Linked DNA regions of Homo sapiens: all the other regions are linked to region 3. Evidence: promoter capture Hi-C in 16 types of primary human blood cells and fetal thymus (Javierre and others, 2016). All regions are on one chromosome and are shown on one strand. The core of a region is centred on a gene start or on the middle of the fragment in contact, and the rest is flanking DNA. Distances in the headings are between cores, read along the strand shown.

Region 1 (2,921 bases), core at 75-2,574, 340 kb after region 3:
TTCCCTGATTTAATGATCTTGAACACTTTTTCACGTGATTATTGGCTGTTGGTATGTCTTTGGAGAATTGTCTATTGCAGTCCTTTTCCCATTTGTAAACCGGATTATCTTGTTTTTTTTGTTACTGAGTGGTAAGAGTTCCTTTATGTTCTGGATATTAACTCCTTATTAGATATGTGGTTTGCAGATATGTTCTACAATTCTGTATATTGTTCCTTCTTACTCTGTCATTTGCTTCCTATGTTGTGCAGAGATATTAAAATTTGATGTAATGTATTTGTCTGATTTTGCCTTTGTTGCCTGTGCTTTTGGTGTCATATCCTAGAAGTCATTGCAAAATCCAGTGTTGGGAAGCTTTTCCCCTAAGTTTTCCTCTAGGAGTTTTCTAGTTTCAAGCCTATACATTTAGGTCTTTAATCCAATGTTAGCCCTTTCTTAATGAGTTCTTTGTATTTTGGGCAGGGAATAAGTCTTTCTTTAATGTAACTGTCAGGAATTTACTATATTTAACTTTTTCCTTCTTCCTTCCTCCCCTCTTTCCCTCCCTCCTTCCCTTCCTCATTCATTCCCTCCTTCCCTCTCTTACGGCTTGAAGATAATGGAATCACTCAGGTTTTGTTCGTAACTGGTAAGGTTTTAGTTTAGTAGGATGATAATTCATTTTCAACAGCACTTTCTTGTTTGTTCATTGGTTAGCAGGAAGAAGATGAGCCTTAGGTCTGAACGCCGAGGAATTCATGTGGATCCTGTGCAAGAAAGGATGTGGTTACTGTGGCAACCCTACCTGGCAGGGTTTCTGCTCCAAGTGCTGGAGGGAAGAGTAGCACAAAGCCAGGCAGAAGCAGATTCAGGAGTACTGGGAGCTGGTGGAACGGTAAAAGGACTTAACTAGGGGCGGTTGATCAGTGATGTGACTGGATACATAGCTCTGTCACCGTGCAAATACATTTTTTCTCTTCTGCATTCAGCTATCAGCAAGTCAGTTTAATATTAAGGAAAAGGATGTTTTCCCCTCTTCTTCTCAGTCAACCTTTAATGAACAGCTTTCAGTAGTTTCTTCATTTTGTGTTTGTCTTAACTTCTGGTTATTTTCTTTGGATTGTGTTAGTCTTAGTTCTCAAATTTAGACAAATTCCTTGGAGTGGAAGAATGGAGACAGGCATATTTCCTGGTGAAGATTAAATGAGCTAATAAATATGATGTACCCAGCGCAGGGCTTGCAAATGGCAGTCATCAAGCATTATTTCTCTCGTTCTTTTACTATATTCAGCATGGCATGTAGCTCAGTGATAAAACAGTAGTAGAACTCTGGTGACTCGTATACATAGTCCTTGCATTATAGAAATTTATTCCTTAAAAATTAGGTTACTCAAAGGCAGTTTGTATTATCTGGATATACAGTGATGTTAAAAATTAAATGATGGGTCGGGCGCAGTGGCTCACGCCTGTAATCCTAGCACTTTGAGAGGCTGAGGCAGCTGGATTACCTGAGGTTAGGAGTTCGAGACCAGCCTGACCAACATGGTGAAACCCAATCTCTACTAAAAATATTTAAAAAGTTAGCCGGATGTGGTGGTACGTGCTTGTAATCCCAGTTACTTGGGCGGCTGAGGTAGGAGAATTCCTTGAATGCAGGTATCGGAGATTGCAGTGAGCTGAGATCGTGCCACTGCGGTCCAGCCTGGGCAACAAGGTGAGACTCTGGTCTCAAAAAAAAAAACAAAAAACAAAACAAAATTAAATGATGGGATGGCTAGTGAGCATAGGAACTAGTAAAATGCCATAAATAATGTTAATTCTTTGCCAGAGCATTCTAGAAATTCTAAAACTGCTTCAACAGAAGAAAGTCAAATGGAATTCTGCTAACTCTTGCTAGTTTTTTTTTTTTTTCATCCAGTCAGCCAATATTTGTTGAGTTGACTTCTTTGCTGGTATCTGTGGTAAACCCAGAGAATTAGAAATTACACATTGCTTTCAGTGACTGTGGTCAATCAAAGAGAGAAAATTTTAACCCAGAACGTGAATGATCTCCTCAGGCTTCCGACTGCATGCCTCATGCTGTCAGTAGCAGACCCTGTTTCGAAAACAGAGTAGAGGCCACTAGGCACAAACTCTCTCAGCTTCCTCCCCTGGCTACATAAAATGTACTAATACCTTTATATTAACTTCTTGTCTGTCCCAGAGAAAGAGGTGTCCCGATTCCATCCTCAGACTTAGCACCTCCACCTGTGATTTTTGTTTCTATTTCTTACTGCTTTTAATTGTGACCCTGCTAAATCTCTCGGAAAGCTTGTAAAAGCAGTGATTGTTGGACTTTACCCTCAGAATCTCTGATTTTAGTAGTTTGGGAGTAAGACTAGAGAATTTGCATTTCTAACAAGTTGCCTGGTGTTGCTGCTATTGCTGTCTGGGGAATCACACTTGGAGAACCACTGTCTTATAGATAGTGCTTGAGTTTTTTGTTTGTTTTTTGTTTTTTTGAGACAGGGTCTTGTTCTGTCATCCCTGCTGGAGTGCAGTGGTACATGGTACAGTCTGGACTCACTGCAACCTCTGCTTCCTGGGCTCAAGTGATCCCTCTGCTTCAGCCTCCCAAGTAGCTAGGACTACATGAGCATGCTACCACGCCCAGCTAATTTTTGTATTTTATGTAGAGACAGGGTTTCACCATGTTTCCCAGGCTGGTCTCAAATTCCTGAGCTCAAGTGATCCGGCTGCCTTGGCCTCCCAGTGTGCTGGGATTACAGGCGTGAGCTACTGTACCCCGCCTGTGTTTGGGAATTATTACAGATGGTTCACATGCAGCTAATCCAAACCCAAATTTATTGCTTTTATTTATTATTCTCCGCATTCTGAACATTTTCCTCCTAACCCTTCTCCTGAGTCAATTAATGGCATCACTATTTACCAAGTTAGCTAAA
Region 2 (3,063 bases), core at 510-3,009, 270 kb after region 3:
ATCTCAATGGAATCCTCTAGCCCATGAAGTGTTGGAATACTCCTGCAGGCAACTGGACAGGGGATTTCTTCTCATTGTTCTGTCTCTCTGGACCAATGGGAGTTTCCAAATACAGCCGCCTTTGAAGAATAAAATTAGATAATTGGGTGGAATATCCCCTGAATATGTCTGGAAGCAATTACATTCTGCCTTGACTCCTGGGAGTGCTGAGTAAATAATGCCACCCTCATTTCATCTAATAGCGATGTGGTCAGCTCATTAGTTAAGTTCATATTTTTGTTAAGAAACTCATGGTGAACTCGGTTTCCAAGCAAAATATTTATTTATTTTACTTTTTATTTTAGAGACAGGGTCTTGTTCTGTCACTGAGGCTGGACTGCAGTAGTGCAATCACGGCTCATTGCAACCTCAACCTCATGGGCTCAAGTGAACCTCCCACCTCAGGCTCCCAAGTATCTGGGACTGCAGGTGCACACCACCCTGCCTGGCTTATGTTTTTGAATTTTGTTTTTTTGGACATAGGATCTTGCTATGTCACCCAGGCTGGTCCTGGACTCCTGGCCTCAGGCAATCCTCTTGCCTCTGCCTCTCAAAGTGCTATAGGATTACAGGTGTGAACCACCATGCCTGGCCAGGCAAAATAGATTCTTCCTTTCTGGTGCAGAAGATGAAACTAGTGTGATGAAACTAGTGTGTCTGCTCAGTGTGATCCTGCAGGCATCCTCTGCAGCTGTTGTGGAGGTAGATACAGAGTTTCCAGGATGTGTATCCACCTTACCTTAACTTAGGTGGATACAGAGCCTGCAGGATCCTATGCTGCTGCTATGAAGACTGAAAATGCTCTCCAGTTCCTAGCAGGCCAGATGTAAAAGCTGACTTGGAAAGCAAGAGACATCAGTGCTGAGAGCACCTACCTGCCTGAGAACAAGAAGCAGACAGTCCTGGGTATGGCATCACTGTCATGGTTGGCTAACAGGTACCAGATAAGGCATGGCCAGAAGTGGCCAACTAGCTTTTAAATATCAAAGACAGGACAGTTACAAACAGAGGGGAGAGGTGGAGGAGGACATGGTGAGAGGGACAGTAAACACCTGCAACGTGTGCACACACGGGTGGGCCCTTGGGGCAGTCAGCTGAGGTACAGTTGGTGATGAAGATGCTATGTTGAGAAACTGGATACCCAAGGCATTTATAAAAGTTCACAAAGACTGTAGGGACTTAAGCCTACTCATGATACCACCCTGACCTCTTTACAAAAATACTGGAGATACAAAGATTTCTTCAACTGGACTCTGAACCTGTAAGTTTCTTTTAATGAGGGTCAAGCTCCAAGTTTTGTGTTGCTATGTGATTCTATTTCTTGATTTTAATAATGACTGAGAAAAGTATGGATACCTCCATTCCAAAAATCTACTGGGGCTGGGCCATCTGCCAGGATCATATGATACGGGGAAGAAATGAGGGTCTGTATTACATTAAGAGAATCCTGGCCAAGTGCGATGGGTCACGCCTGTAATCCCAGCACTTTGGGAGGCTGAGGTGGGTGGATCACAAGGTCAGGAGTTCAAGACTAGCCTGGCCAAGATGGTGAAACTCCATCTCTACTAAAAATACAAAAATTATCCGGGTGTGGTAGCGAGCACCTGTAATCCCAGCTACTTGGGAGGCTGAGGCAGGGAATTGCTTGAACCCGGGATGCGGGGGTTGCAGTCAGCTGAGACTGCACCACTGCATTCTAGCCTGGGCAGCAGAATGAGACTCCGTCTCAAAAAAAAAAAAAAAAAAAAAAAAAGAGAATCCTCAGAAGTCATGGTTTGTTGAGGTGTGAATAAGGTTGACATAGAGGCCAGAGGTGGCTAGAAAAGGTACATCATAATCTGATGACAGGCCCCTGTTACGGAGTATTTCTGGATGGTTCATGGTTCAGTCTTTCCCACAGTTGACTGGATCTTCTCCTGGTGTACAACAGCTCTGTGTCCACCTGGTGTCAAGTGGTTGGAGAAGGGGGATACCTAGGATTTCCAGATCATGTCATTCCTCAGGAAAAACAAGTGTGTGAGAGAAGAAGTCCTTTGCAGTCCAGGAATTGAACTGCCCTCTTCCTAAGGCTGCTCTGTTTATTATTTCATGTGTGTGTGTGTGTGTGGTGTGGTGGAGGGTCAGGGGTACACTTTGGAAGAAGACATAAAATTCTGTCCTTTGAATATACCTAGATAATGAACATCTATGAATTTTATAGTAATACTGTCACTCTTACTTTGCATTTAGATTTTAGAAGCAGGTATTCATCTGAGAAAAAATGAGGTACCTAAGTTCACAGCTAATAAGATCACTGTAGACATGACTGGGGAAGGGAAAAGAAAAGCACCTAACTATTCTTTCTCAAAACAAAAACTACTAGGCTCGGTGTGGTGGTGGCTCATGCCTGTACTCCCAGCACTTTGGGAGGCCAAGGCGGGTACATCACCTGAGGTCAGGAGTTTGAGACCAGTCTGGCCAATATGGTGAAACCCCATCTCTACTAAAAATACAAAAATTAGCCAGGCTTGGTGGCGCGTCTGTAATCCCAGCTACTTGGGAGGCTGACGAAGGAGGATTGCTTGAACCCAGCTGGTGGAGGATGTAGTGAGCTGAGATTGCACCACTACACTGCAGCCTGGGCAACAGAGCAAGACTGTCTCAAAAAAAAAAAAAAGAAAGAAAGAAAGAAAGTTTAAAATTATGTTTAAAAAACAGAGAAATTAAGCTAAAGTACATGATAGGAAAAACAATGTGGTAAGGAATTAAAAGAAAGCTAAAGGTAAGTAAATAAAAGCTAAGGGAACAGGCTATAAGTTCAACAAACCAAAATTAAGTAGTGAAGAGGTCATCTACACAAGAATGAAGACGGGACACTTGGCAGTATAGAGATCTAAGTCCAAGGGCCATGAGTCCCAAGCCAGGCACATGGCATCCCCTGAACTACACTAAGGAGTCTCCCATTCTGTTATGCTTTTGATGTTGGAAGTAGGCTATCCAGCTTGTCTATGCAGGGATACCTGCAAGGCTTCAGGAGTGTCATTA
Region 3 (3,058 bases), core at 152-2,651:
TAGCATTGAGACTCCGGTGCTAGCAGTGATTCCAGTCCACCTGATTCAGGCCACAGGAATTCTCCCAGAATCTTCACTACAAGTTGAAACTCCAAATCCTTAATCCTAGAGAGTAAATGCACTTAGGGTCAATGCACACCTAAGTATACCTTAGGTGCGCGACAGGTCTATTTCCTGTCAGAATCCCTAGATGAAAAGAGGAAGTAGATGGACACCCTTATCGGTCAAGCGCTGATGGAACACTCATCTACAAATGAGATACACATGCTGAGACCCTAAGCTGACCCAAGCTGATGGTGCTATCGAGACAAACCACTTTATCACATATTCATCAGCAGTCTCGGAGTTTTTCTTCCCATTCCCTCCCGTAGCGGCTCACCTTTGAGGCAGGAAAGAAGCAGTTCAGGCGGAAGCCACAATCTTTACAAAGCAGGCTTCAGAGAAGCTCACCATTCATCAGCCAGTGAGGGCTGTCACCTGCTAGTTGAGAACTAAACTCAGACATCAGATTCTTCCACAAAGGCCTCCTCACCAGCTGTCCGATGGGTACGGCGTTCAAACGACTCAAAACAGCACAACAAGCCTGGTTTTATTTCTGATGGTCCCCATCAAGGGAACTGAAACTACATGCCTCTAGATTACCTTGCGATCACTCCTCATTTTATTAAAAACATGAAGAAAGAATCCACCCCATTCCGGATATTTACCAAGCTTGACACAGGGAACACCACTATGCCATTTAACTTTGTGGACGTACGTGAGTCTCTCCCTCCCACCTTTCTGAGATGTGTTTCACTGCCAAACGGAGAAGAAACGCAAACACTCCCCAAAGCCGAAAAATGGCAAACGACCAAGATGTTTCCCGTGCCAAATCCGAATTATCCAGGCCTCGGCTCCAGACGTGGGAAGTCCCGCCATCTCCAAGGCCGGCAGGGAACCCTGGCTCGGGGGACGCGAGTGGGCAAACCCCAGTGTGGGGGGACCAGGCCGAGGTCGGCCGATGCTGGGCGACCCCCGCCAGCAGTTGGGGCGGGGTCTGCACCCTGAGAAGCGGTGAAAAAAGCCGGCGGAGGAGCCGCTCCCGACCAGCACGCTCCCCGCTCCCGGCCCCGCGGGCAGCCCCGACTGGGCCCGACCCCAGCCCGCCCTCCAGCCCCGGCTCACCCCGCCCCGGCGGGCAGCTGCGCGCCCCGGGCCCAGCCGGGCCAGCTGCTCGGCGGACGCCCGCGGTCGCGCTGGGCTCACTCGTGGCGGCGCGTGGCGGGCCCGAGGCCGCTAGGCACCATCTTCTCCCCGCGCCGGGGGCAGCGTCTGGCTCCGCGGGGCCGACGCGAAGACCAGACGCCAACCGGGCTCCCGCCGCCGCCTCAGTTCGGGCTCCGGCAACCGCGGTTTCCGGGTGAAAAAAAAAAAAAAAACCACGCCACCTCCAACGCCGCCGTGACCTCCGACCCCGGGCGTCCGACGGTGGCGCGGCCGGGACAAGCTTCGTCAGAGGCAGGCGGCGGAGACCACGCTTCCGGGACGGGTAGCGTGCATGCGGACGTGCGTGGAGTGCGTGATGGACGTTTATGGGTCTGTGTGCCGGTCTGGTGTTGTGCGTGTGCGTGTGTGCGTAGTGCGTGTATGTGGCTTGTAGTGTGCATCGTGTACAACGGTGTGTGCAGTGAGTGCATGTATGTGCATCTGTGTGCGCGTGTGTGGTGTGTGATGGTATGGGTGTGTGCATGCGTAGATGTGTAGGGAGTGCGCACACGTGTGCATGCTCATGTGTGTGCTATGCGTGTGTCTGTTGATGTGCTTGTATATTAATCACTGCTGATAAACATGTAATTTTGGACCAGGCGCGGTGGCTCAGGCCTGTAATCTCAGCACTTTGGGAGGCCAAGGCAGGAGGATCGCTTGAGTCCTGGAGTTCCAGACCAGCCTGGGTAACATAGGGAGTCTCTGACTCTATTTATAAATAAAATAAAATGAAAATGAAAATTTTTAAAGTATAATTTTGTACAATCACTTTGCAAAGTAATTTGGCATTATGCAGTACACTTAAAGATATACACATCCTCTCTTGAGAATATATTACCCTGGAGAAACAGTTGCACCTATGCACAAGTAGACAAAATAATGCTCATAGCAACACCAATGTTTTTAGCAGCAGTATGACTCACTAAAAATTGGGGAGAAAAAGCAGATGTCCATACAGTCAAATGTAAAAACCAACTTTGATATATTCATGGTTTGGTTTGTTTTTGTAGAGACAGGGTCTCCCTATGTTACTCAAGCTGGTCTCGAACTACTGGACCCAAGTGATCCTCCCACCTCGGGAGGATCTGGGATTACAGGTGTGAGCTGCCACGCCTGGCCCATCTTCGTGTTTAATCGGGTACAAAAGACCAGTGAAAATTATTTAATACAGCTCACACAATTATGGTAGTCAATTGCAGACTATATTGGCAGGGACCAAATCACAAAATGGTACACTGCTACATATTTCCATTATGTAAAATTCAAAACAGGCAAGTTCATAACATATTGTTTAGAGATGCATACATAATTGTTTGAACTGACATGAAGCATGAGAAAAAGATGTATAAACTTCATGTTAAGTGTTAGGGGAATGGGATGGGGGAGGAGTACAGGGTGCTTTAAAGGTAATAAAGTTTTGTTGTTCTTGCTTTTGAGACAAGGTCTTGCTCTGTCACCCAAGCTGGAGTGCAGTCGCATGATCATGGCTCACTGCAGACTCGGCCTCCCAAGCTGAAGTGATCCTCCTGTCTCAGCCTCCTGAGTAGCTGGGACCACAGATGTGCACCATCGTGCCCAGCTAATTTTCATATTTTTCACAGAAATGGGGTTTCCCCCAAATTGCTCAGGCTGGTCTCAAACTCCTGGGCTCAAGTGATCCGCTCACTTCCACCTCCCAAAGTGCTGGGATTACAGGCATGAGCCACCACACCCAGCCATCTTTAACAAAAGTTTATCAGGTGAAGCCTGTAATGTTCAACACAATGGCTCAGTTCCTTCACTGAATACCCTCTTATTTCCATGATTCTTGCCC
Region 4 (2,987 bases), core at 264-2,763, 330 kb after region 3:
GATGGTGTGTACCTGTAATCCCAGCTCCTTGGAGACTGAGGCAGGAGAATCGCTTGAACCTGGGGGTGGAGGTTGCAGTGAGCCGAGATCGTGCCACTGCACTCTAGCCTGGGCAACAGAGTGAGACTTTGTCTCAAAACAAAACAAACAAAAAAATCAAATGGGCCGTTGTCATGGATGTCCAGCATGGAGACCCACTATCTGCCAAGTGCCCACACACTGTTGGATTTAGTGAACAACTTAGATGTCAGTGGGTGACCAAAATGAGGAAAGGCATGGCTGGAATATGGCAGCCACTGTTGGCTGGAAATGGCCAAGGAGTAATTGTGAACTTTATAGTGAACTTGAGTCCAAGCTGCTATTTAACTGTTCAATAAATGAACAAGCATCATTAGCTGAAACAGAATGTAAAGAAAAATAAGAGGGAGAAATCAGACTTTGATTTCAGGACTATTTCTAATTTAGGCTCCAAAGCTTAAGAGAAGTACAGAGGACTTGATTTTTAGAAAAACTTAAAAATTATTAAATAGATAAGATCATATTCAGAGCTAAATTTAACCAGAATCTAACATTGTTTCCCAGATGAAGAGTTTCACAAAGCCGACTAACTAGTCCAGCTGACTCCCTAGGCTGCTGGGTAGCAGAGTGGGGACATGTCTGTGTGCTGAGACTTGGTGTGTCCCTGTCTTGAAGCCCAGGGCCTGGCTCTGCACTGCCAGGTTACCCAGATGCAGTTATAGAAGAAAAGCCAAAACAACTTGCAGAAAATAAGTCTGCCGAAAAGATAAATAATAGTATTCCAATACATGAACAGACTTGTGACATCTCTTCTCTGGGGACAGAACAAGAGGATACAGGTTTATATCCCAGCAAGAGGAATTCTGCCGAGACCAGTTCGGTCAGGGAGACCCTAACCCAGCGGCGGTAGAGGAATTAAAGATACACACACAGAAATATAGAGGTGTGAAGGGGGAAATCAGGGGTCTCACAGCCTTCAGAACTGAGAACCCTGAACAGAGATTTACCCACGTATTTATTAACAGCAAGCCAGTCATTAGCATTGTTTCTATAAGATATTAAATTAACCAAAAGTATCCCTTATGGGAAACGAAGGGATGGGCCGAATTAAAGGAATAGGTTGGGCTAGTTAACTGCAGCAGGAGCATGTCCTTAAGGCACAGAGCGCTCATGCTATTGTTTGTGGCTTAAGAATGCCTATAAGCGTTTTTCTGGTTTTCCGCCCTGGGTGGGCCAGGTGTTCCTTGCCCTCATTCCGGTAAACCCACAATCTTCCAGCAAGGGCGTTATGGCCATCATGAACATGTCACAGTGCTGCAGAGATTTTGTTTATGGCCAGTTTTGGGGCCAGTTTATGGCCAGATTTTGGGGGGCCTGTTCCCATCAGATTCTACATTAAATACAAGGAAACTTGGCCGGGCACGGTGGCTCACGCCTGTAATCCCAGCACTTTGGGAGGCCGAGGTGGGCGGATCGCGAGGTCAGGAGATCGAGACCATCCTGGCTAACACGGTGAAACCCCGTCTCTACTAAAAATACAAAAAAATTAGCCGGGTGTGGTGGGCGCCTGTAGTTCCAGCTACTCGGGAGGCTGAGGCAGGAGAATGGCGAGAACCTGGGAGGCAGAGCTTGCAGTGAGCCGAGATCACACCACTGCGCTAGCCTGGGTGACAGAGCGAGACTCCGTCTCAGAAAAAAAAAAAAAAAAGGAAAGTTTCTAACTGGAGATATGAGATGAGCTACACAAGAAGAAGCCAAAACATCTGCCCTGGTGCTGCACTGTTGCTCAGTCGTATCATTTTCTGAGTCCTGAGAGTTTTCATATTTGGATAAGTGATCAGTCTGAAAGTCACTTAAGTCCTGCCTAAACTCCAGGACAGCTGGCATCTTCCTTCTCCTCTTTCTTCTCACGTGGCTTCACCCTCACAGTCCCTCATGCTCTCAACTTGGAGCCATCATCTTATCACGATCTCCCTAGCCTCCCTAACCCTCACTCCTGCCTGGTTATTCTATATCACCATGTTATTTATTTTTTAAGTAATTATGATTACGTTATAGGCTTAATTGTGATCCCCACCAGATTCATATGTTGTAGTCCTAATCCCAGTACATCAGAATGCAACTGTATTTAGAAACAAGGTCTCTAAAGAGGTGAGTTAAGATGATGCCATTAGGGTGGGCCCTAATCCAATTCAACTGGTGACTTTATAAAAAGAGGAAATTTGGACACACACAGAGACACTAAAAATGCATGTTCACAGAGAAAAGGCCATGTAAGGACACAGTGAAGAGGTCACTTTCACTGGTGTCCGTGTGAAGAGACCACCAAACAGGCTTTGTGTTAGCAACAAGGCTGTTTATTTCACCTGGGTGCAGGCAGGCTGAGTCCTGGAAGGGACTCAGAGTCAGGGAAGGCAGATAGGGGTGGGGCTGTTTTATAGGATTTGGGTAGGTAAAGGAAAATTTCAGTCAAAGGGGGTTGTTCTCTGGCAGGTAGGGGCGGGGGACACAAGGTGCTCAGTGGGGAAGCTTTTGAGCCAGGATGAGCCAGGAAAAGGAATTTCACAAGGTAATGTCATCAGTTAAGGCAGTAACAGGCCATTTTCACTTCTTTTGTGATTCTTCAGTTACTTCAGGCCATCTGGATGTATACATGCAGGTCACAAGGGATATGATGGCTTAGCTTGGGCTCGGAGGCCTGACAGTGACTATCTATAAGCCAAGAAGAGAGGCCTCAGGAGAAACCAAACCTGCCAGTTCTGTGATCTTATCTTGGATTTCTTTTTTTTTTTTTTTTTCGTTTTTTTAGAGGGAATCTCTCTCTTTTACCCACGCTGGAGTGCAGTGGCACGATCTCGGCTCACCGCAACCTCTGCCTCCCAGGTTCAACAGATCCTCCTGCCTCAGCCTTTCTAGTAGGTGGGGTTACAGGCACGCGCCACCTTTGGATCCACACCTCCTCCCGTCCT

The links. Contacts are between HindIII fragments. The CHiCAGO score rates a contact against its expected background, and 5 or more counts as called.
Region 1: a fragment that was not itself captured here is called in contact with the fragment with the promoter of TMEM248 in region 3 in 3 of 17 cell types (activated CD4 T cells, fetal thymus and total CD8 T cells); the score reaches 6.9 in activated CD4 T cells.
Region 2: a contact is called between a fragment that was not itself captured here and the fragment with the promoter of TMEM248 in region 3, in 5 of 17 cell types (naive CD8 T cells, total CD8 T cells, activated CD4 T cells and 2 more). The highest score is 5.7, in naive CD8 T cells.
Region 4: a contact is called between a fragment that was not itself captured here and the fragment with the promoter of TMEM248 in region 3, in 9 of 17 cell types (fetal thymus, total CD8 T cells, naive CD4 T cells and 6 more). The highest score is 14.3, in fetal thymus.

The regions. Positions count from the first base shown.
Region 1 is chr7:66,574,708-66,577,628 of GRCh38, reverse strand. It overlaps the pseudogene RABGEF1P1. Among named protein-coding and RNA genes, the nearest start is that of KCTD7, 53 kb to the left of the region's middle. The HindIII fragment of the contact is 1,935 bases long and covers 357-2,291 here.
Region 2 is chr7:66,644,934-66,647,996 of GRCh38, reverse strand. No RefSeq gene overlaps it. Among named protein-coding and RNA genes, the nearest start is that of KCTD7, 18 kb to the right of the region's middle. The HindIII fragment of the contact is 7,195 bases long and covers 1-3,063 here.
Region 3 is chr7:66,919,568-66,922,625 of GRCh38, reverse strand. It overlaps TMEM248 (transmembrane protein 248), which reads right to left and starts at 1,401. Exons shown (of 7, transcript NM_017994.5): 1 at 1,165-1,401. RefSeq lists a silencer at 1,110-1,359. The HindIII fragment of the contact is 775 bases long and covers 714-1,488 here.
Region 4 is chr7:66,592,432-66,595,418 of GRCh38, reverse strand. No RefSeq gene overlaps it. Among named protein-coding and RNA genes, the nearest start is that of KCTD7, 35 kb to the left of the region's middle. RefSeq lists silencers at 2,413-2,584, 2,902-2,971 and an enhancer at 2,843-2,987. The HindIII fragment of the contact is 2,073 bases long and covers 477-2,549 here.